2 separate regions of the Homo sapiens genome follow, and region 1 is linked to region 2. The links are contacts of gene promoters, found by promoter capture Hi-C in blood cells and fetal thymus (Javierre and others, 2016). All regions are on one chromosome and are shown on one strand. Each heading gives the region's core, a stretch centred on a gene start or on the middle of the fragment in contact. The rest is flanking DNA. Distances are from core to core; before and after follow the strand shown. Region 1 overlaps RAB11FIP4 (RAB11 family interacting protein 4). Region 2 holds the start of COPRS (coordinator of PRMT5 and differentiation stimulator).

Region 1 (6,374 bases), core at 273-2,772, 380 kb before region 2:
TGTTTGTATTTTTAGTAGAGACGGGATTTCACCATGTTGGCCAGGCTGGTCTCAAACTCCTAACCTCAAGGGATCCACCCACCTCGGGCTCCCAAAGTGCTGGGATTATAGGTGTGAGCCACCGTGCCTGGCCTCGTGTGTACTATTAACTCTGTTGGTCACATAAGAAACCAAGGCTAAGAGACTAGACGAGCTACAGGTAGTAATAGCAGAGCTGGGGCTGAAACCTGGGCTGGTGGGGCACTAGGGGGCTTCACCCCATGAATGTGGCCTTGTGATCCAGTGGGGACCACAGGGGACCTGGCCTGGAAGAAAGGTTTCTTTTTTAGGGCACCCCATGAGCAGCCTGCCTCCCCACTGCACTGGCCTCTCCAGTTTCTACGTGAACACAGAAGCTCCTTCAGCCCTCCTGGGCTGCAGCCACAGAGCTGTTGCTGGGCCGTGGTTTTCCCCTAAGTGGGTGGAACAGTGGCTCCGTGTCCAGAGGCCGGGCACCTTTGGTTTTCCTTTGCCCAGCCCAGCCCTGGCAGGGGAGGCACAAAGGAGGCATCTGTGACTGAGCACGGAGGCCAGCCAGTCTCCCGACACCAGCCCATCCGGTCTGCTGTGGCCTCCTGTTTATTCAGGGGATAAACTTGGGCAGGCCCCAGGGAGCCGCCCTCTCCCCAGCCCCACCACCTTCTCCACAGGGCAGAGTCTGCAGCCCTTCTTCTGTCTTTTGTGGGGTAGCTTGCGTGTTGTGGTTTGGGATACTTCTTCATCCCAGCATCACTGAGATAATTTAGGAGACAATTGCGGGGGACTCTGCTTTCAGAGTGGAGTTACAAGCCCTTCAGTGTGTGTCCTTCCAACCCCAGAACAGACTCAGAGTCGTCATCGTCCACTGTCATCCCGCCTCTCAGGAGGCCGCTAAATCTGAGACTAATGGCTGCCACCTGGAGTGTTCCTCAGGCAGGGAGCAACCACACGACTGTGAGGAGGGGGCACTTACCTGGTGGGGGGCTCAGTGCTCCCCTGTGGGGCTGAGGAAGGAGCCTGGGCTTGGGGAGAAGCTGGGTGCTCCCCGCCCACCCTCCTTGACCCATCAGATATAGATGAGAAGCCACGGCTGGGAGGGTGCGAAGCTGACAGCAGAGCCCCAGGTCCCCAGACAAGCTGTGGGGAGAAGAGCAGCGCGGGCGTCAGAGGCGCCTGGACAGGCAGCCGGCAGGTCCACAGCAAGGCTGCACCTTGTTCTTCCTTGGTCTCTGGGTGGCCAGCACTAGGTCTGGCCTGCGGTTTCTGCTCAGTGATTCTTGTTTGAGTAAATGAATGACGGGGTGAATGAATGAATGGTCTTGGTTCTATGATGGTTACTTTGGGGAAGTTATTTTATTATACAAAACCGAGCCTCTCTTTTTTACATAGGATAACGGCTAGGTGCACAGTCTCTGGAGCCAGGCTGCCTGGGTTTGACTCCTGGCTCTCAACTTACTAGCTGTATGTCCTTGAGTAACCTCTCTGAGCCTCAGTTTCCCCATCTGTAAAATGGGGATAATACCTGCCTCGTAGGGTTGTCGGGAGGATTAAATGAGCTCATATCATGTGAAGCACTAGAACGGAGCTTGTATATATTAAGTGCTATGTGGCCATTTGCTGTTAATACTTTTTTTTTTTTTTTTTTGAGACAGAGTCTCTGTCACCCAGGCTGGAGTGCAGTGGCTAGATCTCGGCTCACTGCAACCTCCACCTCCTGGGTTCAAGCGATTCCCCTGCCTCAGCTTCCTGAGTAGCTGGGATTATAGGCGACCACCACCACACCTGGCTAATTTTTGTATTTTTAGTAGAGACGGGGTTTCACTATGTTGGCCAGGCTGGTCTCGAACTCTTGACCTCAAATGATTCACCCGCCTTGGTCTCCCAAAGTGCTGGGATTACAGGCATGAGCCACCGTGCCTGGCCAGCTGTAAATACCTTTAAGATGAACATAACGTCTGCCTTCCGCGCGTGTTGGGAGCCTGGTGCATTGTTTGCCCAGGTGTGCTCTTCTCAGAACACTGATCCCTTGTGTTGTTAAATGTTAAATAAGAAGGGTCCTGTCCAAGCCCAGTTGCCTTAAGGAAGCCTGGGGTTAAAAGCTAGGGAGGCTTCTCTCCTGCAGAGGTGCCTGTGACATCTTCAAGAGGGAGTGAAGAATTTCACCGGCTGATTTGACCACAGATCAATTTCTTGCTATCAGAGTGGGATGGGGTTTCCACAAAACACGTCTTTGAAGACAACAAATACTGCTTCCTTCCCTCCCTCCCTGGAGCCCTGGCCTCATACTGCTTAGCTTATCTGGTAGCAGCCAGGGAAATGGCAGGATGCATCTCCCTGGGCTTAGAACTGGGGCAGGAGGCAGCAGCCAAGTCAACAGCAGGTAGTGGCCAGTCCTCAGCTCTAAGCCAGCAGGTAGGACTGCAGAGGTGCATGTGGCAAATCATAGACACCTGATGTGGGCTGCCACTGACTGAGACACTGCTGAGCTGGACAGCAGACACCTGCAACCCAAGGATGATGAAGAGGAACTTGAGGCCTTTAATTGCTCATGGTCTTCAATCATCCTTACCAATTAGTTTCTGCTGCTTCCCAGGCAATTCCGGTTGCTGTAAGTAAGCCAGTGATGCAACAAGAGAGGCAGAAGGGAGTCCTGAACGTGGGCCAGATCTGGGTACAAATCTTGTCTCTGCCACCACTTAATCCTCTTGAGCCTCAGTTTCCTTATTTGTTTCATGAGTGCAGTAACATCTACTCTACAAGATTGTTGGATTAAATTAAGAAATGAAGTGGCTGGCACATAGTACATAGCTGTTATCAACAATAGGCTGCAGGGAAATGTTCTCTCCTTGGTTTCAGGGCCCTTGTCCAAGGTTCCCATTAGGTAGAGGAATTGTTTCTTCAGAGTTGAGATCTGATGTGTCTGGGAAGAGGGCAGCCTGACTTGAGAAGGTCTCTCACCTTTCAAATGCCCATCTCAGGAACTTCAGAAAAGGCTTCCGCTAATTCAAAAATCAAGTCCTCAGCTTTCCATTGTCTGTGGGTGAGGGATTCTCAGTCCCATTCAGGGCCCTAACCATTCCCCAGGTGATTACTGTGTGCCAGACATGTTAGGAGCTTAAGTCCAAAGACACCAGGGGCATGGACCCTGTCCTCAGGAATTGCAGAATGGTAGGGGACCTGACAGGAGGCCAATCCTGACAATTCAGTGTGTTCCTCTTAGTAACACAGCTTGTGATTGAGGCATAGACATCATGAAGCCAAGGAATAATTTATTATCACTGGAGAAGACAGGGAAGGCATCACCTGGGAAATCATACCTGGGTGGAGTTTTGAAGGATGAATAGGAGTTTGCCTGGTGGACAGAGGAGGCCAAAAGTTTGGTACTAAAAACAGCATACCTACTCTACTCCCAACCACCTCCCTTTTCTAGGATTGGTGTGGGTCCATCTGCCGTTAGCAAGCTTTGTGACTATAGGTAAGTCATTTCTTCTCTCTCGGCCTGTTTCCCATTGGTGAAATGGGATCCCTTCCAGCTTTAATGCATTGTGATTTCATGTTTATATAGGCCTAGATAATTGTTTTAAAGTCCTCATATTTGCAAAACACGGGGCAAAAGTCTTTGACTTTTTCTCTTCTAACGCATCTCCCAGTCTTACAAAGTTGGTTGTACTCTCTCCATTTGACTGAGGAGGAAACTGAGGCTCGGTGAAGTTACTTGCCTTTAGCCAATATGTGGCAGATCCAGGCCTCAAATCCAGGTCTTCTGGCCCTGAGTTCCACTGTTTCTCCACTGCTCCACACGGCCTCTCACCCCACAAGCCCTCGGCGGCTGCACATAAATGATCCTTGACAGATTACTGCCTCACTCAGGCCCCTGTCAGATGTTACTGCTGACAGTTGGGGAGGAGGAGGAGCGAGAACATTGTGTGCCAGGATGCCAGGCCTCGGCCCTGAAGGAGGAGCTTATGAGAAAGAGGCAAGCAGGGAGGCAGCAGGTAGGACATTGAGCATGGTCAAGAAAGGCTGTTTTGGCCAGAGAGTGGATAAATGATAAAGTCTGGAGTAGCAGGCAAGTGCACAGCCACCCTTTCCTGAAGCAAAAATTGGTGCCTAAATCCATAGTGAAAATAGTCCCCCTGGCCGGGTGCGGTGGCTCACGCCTGTAATCCCACCACTTTGAGGCCGAGGTGGGTGGATCGCTTTAGGTCAGGAGATCGAGACCACCCTGGCCAACATGGTGAAACCCTCTCTCTACTAAAAATAAAAAAATTAGCTGGGTGTGGTGGCACGTGCCTGTGATCCCAGCTACTCGGGAGGCTGAGGCACGAGTATCGCTTGAACCCAGGAGGCAGAGGTTGCAGTGAGCCGAGATCACGCCACTGCACTCCAGCCTGGCGACAGAGCCAGACTCCAGACTCCGTCTCAAAAAAAAAAAAAAAAAAAAAAAGAAAGAAAATAGTCTCCCTGCCTCCAGGGTCTCTCTATGCCCATACCCTGCTTTGTTTTTCTTCAGAGCACATATTATATATGTCACTCATTAATTTATTGTTTCATCATCTGACTTCTCCCACTAAAATGTCAGCTCCACAAGAATCAACCAAGACTTGGTACTGATCAAGGCTGTGTCTACAACACCTAGAACAGAGCCTGGCACTAACTGTTTTGAACAAATGAAGGAATTAATGAAGGAATGACTGAAAGAATGAAGGAATGAATGAAAGAATGAAGGAATGAATTAAAGAATGAATGAAGGAATCAAAGAACAAACGATCCCTTCACCTGTGATCATGTCAGCACCCACTGTTGTCAGCAAGCCTTTAGCAAAGCAGTTCCCAAACTGCTGCATCAGAATCACTGGGATCTTTAAAAACTGCCAACACCTGGCTTCCACCGTGACATTCGGATTAGGTTGCCATGGGGTATGTTATTGACATTTTTTTAGGTTCAAGTGATTCCAAGCGTTTTTTAAGTTCTTCAAGTGATCCTGATGTGCGGTGCAGTTTAGGAACCACTGCTTTAAAGGGTTGTCCACTCCTGAAAAAGGGCAGTCCACTCCTACAAAGCTTCTAGCTGAGTTAATAGCCAATCAGAGACATGGGTAGTGGCACGCAGGGTGGGACCTCTGTGCTGCCCAAGTCTGGGAGGAGGTGGGGAGGGTGAGGTGTTTGGGGAAAGGAGAGTTGTTTTTGCTGCCTGGGTTTTGCTGTCTGGGTAACTCTGATGTTACCAAGAGTAGAGGAAAACGAAGTTTTTCTCCTTGCTCTCACCCAATTCAAGTCAAAAGAACACCTTGCTGGACTTCCTCCTCCCCTGCCACCTCCTCTTCTTGGATGACTGAATGAGTCAGGGGGCTTGTTTGTTAGGGAGGAAACACTGGTTTTCTCACCATTTTCCCCCTTTCGTTGAGCTTGAATGAGTAAGAAAACCCATTGTTTATACATGCACAGGTTGACACAAATAGAGCTTGGAGCTTCTGAAGACTCAACCTGGGCTCCAGAGTCAATAAGACCAGGTCCCACCCCGTCTGCACAGCATCCAGCCAGATGTTACAAGAGAACCCAGCCCCGGGGGCAGGCTGGTGAAATCATCCCGGCCAGTGGACAGTCACCAACACCGGAGTGTTTGCCAAGGGAAACACCTTGTTTCCACAGTCCAAGATCCTCTCCTGGGCTGGCACAGAGTTGCAGAATTGGAAGAGACCTAAAGATGTGCTGTCCAGCTAAAAGCTCTTCCAGGGGAGGAGTCTGAGGCCCAAAAAGTTAGGGAGAGCCCAGAACCCAGGCCTCCTGCATCTTCACTGGGTTTGGTGGGAAGAGGCAGAGGAAGGAGTGGTCAGAGAAGATGCCAGCTTAGTGCAGACCCCTAGACACATCCCCACTGGCGAGAGAGGGCTTTTGGATCCAAGAGTCATTCCCATTTTTTTTCTAAATAAAAAATTGGGGGCCAGGTGCGGTGGCTCACGCCTGTAATCCCAGCACTTTGGGAGGCCGAGGCAGGCAGATCACTTGAGGCCAGTTCAAGACTAGCCTGGCCAACATAGCAAAACCCCATCTCTACTAAAAATACAAAAAGTTAGCTAAGTGTGGTGGCATATGCCTGTAATCTCAGTTACTCAGGAGGCGGAGGCACAAGAATCACCTGAACCCAGGAGACAGAGGTTGCAGTGAGCAAAGATCGCACCACTGCACTCCAGCTTGGGCGACAGAGGGAGACTCTAAAAGAAAAAAAAAGAAAAAAAAAAGAAAAGAAAAAAAATTAGGAATGACTTTCCTTTGGGGTCAAGAGGCCTCTGCAGTCTCAGAGTCCTGCCTATTTGCTTGGTAGTCCCTTCCCTAAGCCACTGCTTAAGTCATCAA
Region 2 (6,334 bases), core at 479-2,978:
CAGTATTTCTAATCTAACTGAAAATCTTCCCGCACAGCCAACCAAATGCTTCTCTGCTCCCATCACTCAGAAGTTCCTGAAACCCTATGACCTCCAAGACCTCTTTCTAATGAATCACGAAATGTTCCCTGCCTGCATAAAAGACCTGATTTTGATCCCAGCTCTGCCATCCATTCAGAGTGTGACCTTGAACACATCACTTCAATTACTGTGCCTGAGTTTTCTTCTCCAGAAATTAGGGGTGACTGTTCTGACCCTGCAGGGGACTTATGATTAGACACCATTTATGAAAACACCTGGCATGTGGCAAGAATGTAACATTTCTTGAATTTAAATTCATCTTTTCTGCTACATCTAAACTGTACTCGGCACCTGCTCCAATCAGCATTCATTATCTAGTCATGTCTGGGTTTAATAATTCAGTTCCACTCCCTGTAGTTAGTGACAACCTCTGGTCACTGCCGCCCAAGGAGAAGTCAGACCTCTCACCTAAACCACTGCCACGGCCTCCTAACCACCTTCCCATCCAGCCATCTGGCCCAGCCTTACAGAATTAATCACTACTCTGCTCAAAACCTTCAACAGCCCTCCACTGAGAGAGCACAAAATTAGCCATGGCATTCGCACGTCCCCTCTTCTCCCACTCCCATCAACCTGTTGAGCATAGTTCTCTGCATGCTCTGAGACCCAACTCCAGGCCATGTGCCCTGCACTTTCTCATCTCCACGCCTCTGCAGACACCACCAGCCTCTCACCTTGATCCTTTCCTGCTATGCCCTGACAAAATTAGTCCCATTCTATTCTGCACTCCAAAGTAATTTTCTTTGTAAGTGTCGCTGCATTTTTCATATCTTACTTTGGCTAAGTACCATCTTTGAGGCATCATTCATCCAGTCGGTATGTCTATCTCCTGTGCCAGGCACTATGCTAGGCTGTGCAAACAGCCCTAACAGAGGGTTCCTACCTTCAAGCCGCTCAGCACCTAGCCGGTACAGACTGTAAACAAGGACAGGTAAGAACTGTAATAACGGTCTGTAACGTTCTCGGGAAAACCAGGAGCTGTCTAGCTTACATGAAAACAAGTTTCTGGAAACCCTGCGTCAAACAGGGCCTTTCTGGTTTCAGTAAGGAGAAGGGGGAGCGCGCATGTGACATCTGGGGCTCAGGGTTAGCTGGCATCCCCACCAACGGACAGAGGTCCACAGGTCTGTAAAGTCAAGTCCCTCTCCTCGCCGCCCTCACCTGGCCCTCGCCCAGGCTCCTGGCAGCGGGCCCCGGCTCTCGGTCACCAGCGTCACCTCCCATTTACCAAATCCGCAGCGGCGCCCAGCGGGCGGACAGCCGTCTCTGCTGACCCAGAGCGCCCACCCACGCCCTCGGCTTTCCCCGCCCCGCAGCCCCGCGGCCCCGCGGCCTGGCCGTTTTCAGCTCGAGCGCGAGCCCAAACAGCGCTCCGTGTCGCGGGGCGGCCCGAGGCCGGCCAGAGGCGCTTCCCCGGCCCCGCGGCCCCCGCCCAGCCCGGCCCCGCGACTTCCCGCCCCAGGCTGCGGCTGGCTGTTGCTCCTGGCCCCCACGCGGCGCTCACCTCCGGGCTGGGGGGCGCCCCCCGCGCGCTAGGCAGCGGCGGGCCCCGAGACGGCTCCGCGGCCCCCTGCGCCTGGGCCCCGGCGGCCTGAAGGTCCATGCCCTGCGGCCCGCGGCTGGTCGCCCTGGACGCCGTGGGCCACGTGACGCGCCGGCCCGGCTGCCCGCCCGAGGATCCGCCGCAGAAGCGCCAATCAGCCTGGGGAGGGGGTGGGTACCGGCCAAGAGGGCGGGGCGCGGGGGTGTCACGAGCAAGCGGGGGCGGGGCGGCGCAGGGGGCGGGGCGCGCGGCCTCGCGGAGCCCGCCCCTCCCTCCCAGCGCGAAATCTGAAACAATCTCGGAGACGGATTTTGGAAACTCCTCTCGGTGCATATCCTAAGGCTGCACGACTAGCTGCGTGTGAAACGCCAAGCGTACCCTACTCGGCCACTCGGGGTGTGCTCCAGCTTCAAAACCCCGCGTGGGTAAGACACATGAGCAACCCAGTGACCTCCACCTTGAGCTAATGATCGTCTTTGAAGTTAATCCATTAGAAACCAAGATAGATGATTAAGACACAAACTGCAATATGCAGTGGACACAGAATACAGGCCACGACGCTTACTCATAATAATCCTGAACATTCGGGATTCCTGTATTTCCATGCTCAACGCCTGATACCGACAACCTAATTATTTCCCATTTTGCCTCGAAAGGTGGCTTCTGGGGATAGGCAGGGCCTGAGCTGGGAACAGCCCAACTGGAAAGACAGCCTTCCCTGCCTTCCCCACAGTGCCTAACCTCTAATAACAAACCAGCTCAAGGTGTGCTAATCACGTCAACATCAGGACATGAGACCCTCTTCCTTCATCCCCCTCAAAGACTGTGTTGTTTGTACAACACAAAAGGCATTTGAAAAAATTTAGCATAAAACTGACACACAATATTCGATATTATTTTTGTTCTATATGTAGATGTTCCTACACAGGAGTCAGTATCCCCAAGGCTAACTGCCTCTAGGTCAGCAATGTCCAATAGAACGTTCTTTAATGGTGGAAGTGGAAATGAAAGTTCTACTATCTGTACTGTCCAATATAGTAACCATATACCTACTGAGCACTTGAAATGTGGCCAATGTGAATAAATTGAATAATTCTAATAAATTTAAATTGCTACATGTGCCTTGGAGCTACTGTTTCTAACAGTGCAACTCTAGGTGTACTAGCTAGATGTGTTTTCATAACCTGCAATATTGAGAATCAGATACAGGGATGTGATGACCCCAGGTGACCACCCTTATAGCCTTGTGTTAAGGAGACTACCACTATCCTCTTTGCTCCCTAATCTACATATCTCTTTCGTAAAATTAAAGTGCCAAATAAGATTAAGAATGTTAAACATCCCAGGACTTAAGGGACAGGAAAAAGAGGAATTTTTTTCTTATTTTAAAACAAATGACAAGAAAACAGGGGCTGGCCGCGGTGGCTCACTCCTGTAATTCCAGCACTTTGGGAGGCCGAGGCAGGCAGATCACTTGAGGTCAGTTCAAGGCTATCCTGGCCAACATGGTGAAACCCCATCTCTACTAAAAATACAAAAATTAGCCAGGCGTGGTGGCACACACCCATAATCCCAGCTACTCGGGAGGCTGAGGCAGGAGAATCACTTGAGCCCGGGAGGTGGAGGGTGCAGTGAGCAGAGATTGCCCCACAGCACTCCAGCCTGGGCGACAGAGTGAGACTTGGTCTAAAAAAAAAAAAAACCAGAAAGAAAAAGAAAACAGTACAAAAGCTTAAAATAAAAATGTTCTAAAGTAGACTCTAATACTCATAGAAATTTAATATATAATAAAGGTAACATCACAAATCAGCAGAGAGAAACATAACTGCCCAAATAGTGTTGGCAAAATTAACTGCTTGGGGAAAAAGAGTTGTTCTCAGCACCAGGAAGAGCTTCCAAAGCATTTTAAAAACAGACATCACACATACACACACAAAATACCTCTGGGCATCAAAAATCGCCACAAAAGGTGCCTATAATCCCAGCTACTTGGGAGGCTTTGGCAGGGAGAACTGTTTGAACCTAGGAGGCAGAGGTTGCAGTAAGACCACACCACTGCACTCCAGCCTGGACCACAGAGCAAGACTCTGTCTCAAAAAAAAAAAATCACCACAAACAAGGCTGGGGGTAAAATTATTTGCAACAAATGAGAAACAAGATATTAATATTCTGAATATGTTTTTAAAAACTCTGGCCAGGCACAATGGCTCATGCCTATAATACCAGCACTTTGGGAGGTTGAGGTAGGAGGATTGTTTGAGCCCAACTGTTTAAGAGACCAGCCCTGGCAACATAGCAAGACCAGTCTCTACAAAAAAAAATTTAAATTAACCAGGCATGGTGGTGTGCACCTGCAGTCCCAGCTACTCAAGAGGCTGAGGTGGGAGGATCTCTTGAGCCCAGAAGTTAAGGCTGTAGTGAGCCATGATCACACCACTGCACTCTAGCCTAGGTGACAAAGCAAGAACTTGTCCAATTTAAAAAAAAAAATTAACTCATAAATTAGTAAGAAAAAAAATTTTTAAATAGTCTAAGGATGTAAAAAGATGAGAAACATAAAATACACTAACTTCACTAATATCAAAGTATGGTAAAACAATGACATATCACATTTCACCTATAAAATGGTAAAAATAAAAGATATAATTACACCAGTACAGGTAAGGGTACTGACACTTTCATGTATTGCTTGAAAGAAGGAGCAAACCAGCAATACATATCAGTATTCTCTAAAAGCAGTATCCTTTGATCCAGTAATTCCACTGTCGGATGTCAATCTCCTAAGGAAATGGCCAGGGATGTGAACAAAGATTGACAAGAATCTTCATCAACAGCATTTATCTAATTTTTAAAAAAATTAGAAATGACAGTCCAGGCCAGGCTTAGTGGTTCACGCCTGTAATCCCAACACTTTGGGAGGCCAAGGCGGGTGGATCATGAGGTCAGGAGTTCGCAACCAGCCTGGCCAATATGATGAAACCCCCGCACTACTAAAAATACAAAAATTGGCTGGGCGCGGTGGCGGGTGCCTGTAATCCCACCCAGCTGCTCGGGAGGCTGAGCCAGAACCACTTGAACCCGGGAGGTGGAGGTTGCAGTGAGCCGAGATGGAGCCACTGCACTCCAGCCTGGATGACAGAGCAAGGCTCCATCTCAAAAAAAAAAAGACAGTCTAACCAGAGGATTAGTAAAATATATTATGGCTCATTTTTACAATGTAATGTTACGAATTCATTAAATGTTTTTAAGGCTATTTAATGACACAGAAAAACAATACTAAGTGAAACGTAACAATAAGCTACACTGAAAGCTTCTCCCAGTGACAGGATGCTTTTTTTTACCACACTATTCTATTTCCTCCATATTTTCCAGAACAAATGCATACCACGTATCTTTTATAATGAGAATAAACCAACAAAACTGTACTTTCTCCTTTTTTTTTTTCCTTGAGAAGGAGTTTCGCTCTTCTTACCCAGGATGGAGTAGCAATGGCATGATCTCGGCTCACTGCAACCTCCGTCTCCCAGGTTCAAGCAATTCTCCTGCCTCAGCCTCCCAAGCAGCTGGGATTACAGGCACCCACCACCACACCTGGCTAATTTTTGTATTTTTAGTAGAGACGGGGTTTCACCATGTTGGCCAGGCTAGTCTCAAACTCCTGACCTCAGGTGATCCGCCTGCCTCAGCCTTCCCAAAGTGCTGGGATTACAGGCGTTGAGTCACCATGCCTGGCCACTTTCTCCTTCATTTTAACTGGCTCTTAGGTCGAGATTAGAGATACTCATGCTTGACCTGGGATAATTTTAAAAAAACCCAGTCGTATGCTATCCATGTATTTTGGGAAACATTTAGGACCTGTGGAAGATCGGGCCTCAACATTAAATCAGCAATTCTCTTTACTGGAATCAGATTAGCACATCAAACTGAGCAGTGTCATGCACCTATAATCCCAGCTACTCAGGAGTCTGAGGTGAGAAGGTCACTTGAGTCCAGGAGTTCAAGACCAGCCAGGGCAACAGAGCAAGACCCAGTCTCAATCATAAAAATTTTTTAATTTTTAAAAAGATTTAACAAGTTAACATAAAATTAAAGTGTGTCTCAAAACCAGACAGCCATCTTGTCTGCCATCACTGAGCAAATTACAGATGGACTCAATACAAATTTGCCCACGGGGCTTGCTTGCAATACTATTTCACAAAGCTGACTGTATTCTTCATCTTCATAAATGGCCAGTCTGATGCATAGCATGTTTAGCTACAAATGCCTCTGCTGACTCTCCCTGCAACATTTTCATCGCTCGCCAGTAGATCTGTCCACAGTTCTCAGGTCTACCAAGGGGGTGGTTCAATTCTTCTTTCATATAATCCATCCAAAGATCTTTTAAAAAAAAAACATACAATTAGATAACTGACAGAGTGTTATTAGGTAACCTTATTAAATATCAATTCAACTCAAGATTTCTAAGAAACTTAACTTCTCATTGTTACTTCCCTAGGACGCTTTGTTTAACAATACCTCTCTTAGCTTCTTTAAAGTATAGTGGCAGGTTTTGGTTTGTTTTTGTGTGTTTTTTTCTTTTTTGAGACAGGGTCTCACTGTGTTGCCCCGGCTAGAGTGTAGTAGCGGGAACATGGCTTACTACAGTCTCAACCTCCTGAGTTCAAGTGACCCTCCTGCCTCAGCCTCCAGGGCAGCTGGGAACACAGGCAC

What was found. The method cuts DNA at HindIII sites, captures the fragments that hold promoters and counts their contacts. A CHiCAGO score of 5 or more calls a contact.
Region 1: a fragment that was not itself captured here is called in contact with the fragment with the promoter of COPRS in region 2 in 1 of 17 cell types (neutrophils); the score reaches 6.7 in neutrophils.

Annotation. Positions count from the first base shown.
Region 1 is chr17:31,476,352-31,482,725 of GRCh38, forward strand. The region is part of intron 3 of RAB11FIP4 (RAB11 family interacting protein 4); the gene reads left to right. Among named protein-coding and RNA genes, the nearest start is that of MIR4724, 55 kb to the right of the region's middle. RefSeq lists an enhancer at 1-792. The HindIII fragment of the contact is 3,910 bases long and covers 1-3,477 here.
Region 2 is chr17:31,857,516-31,863,849 of GRCh38, forward strand. COPRS (coordinator of PRMT5 and differentiation stimulator) reads right to left here and starts at 1,729. Exons shown (of 4, transcript NM_018405.4): 1 at 1,586-1,729. The coding sequence starts at 1,684. It overlaps UTP6 (UTP6 small subunit processome component), which reads right to left. Exons shown (of 19, transcript NM_018428.3): 19 at 3,389-6,001. The coding sequence ends at 5,844. RefSeq lists an enhancer at 716-1,390 and a silencer at 1,450-1,879. The HindIII fragment of the contact is 3,390 bases long and covers 1-3,353 here.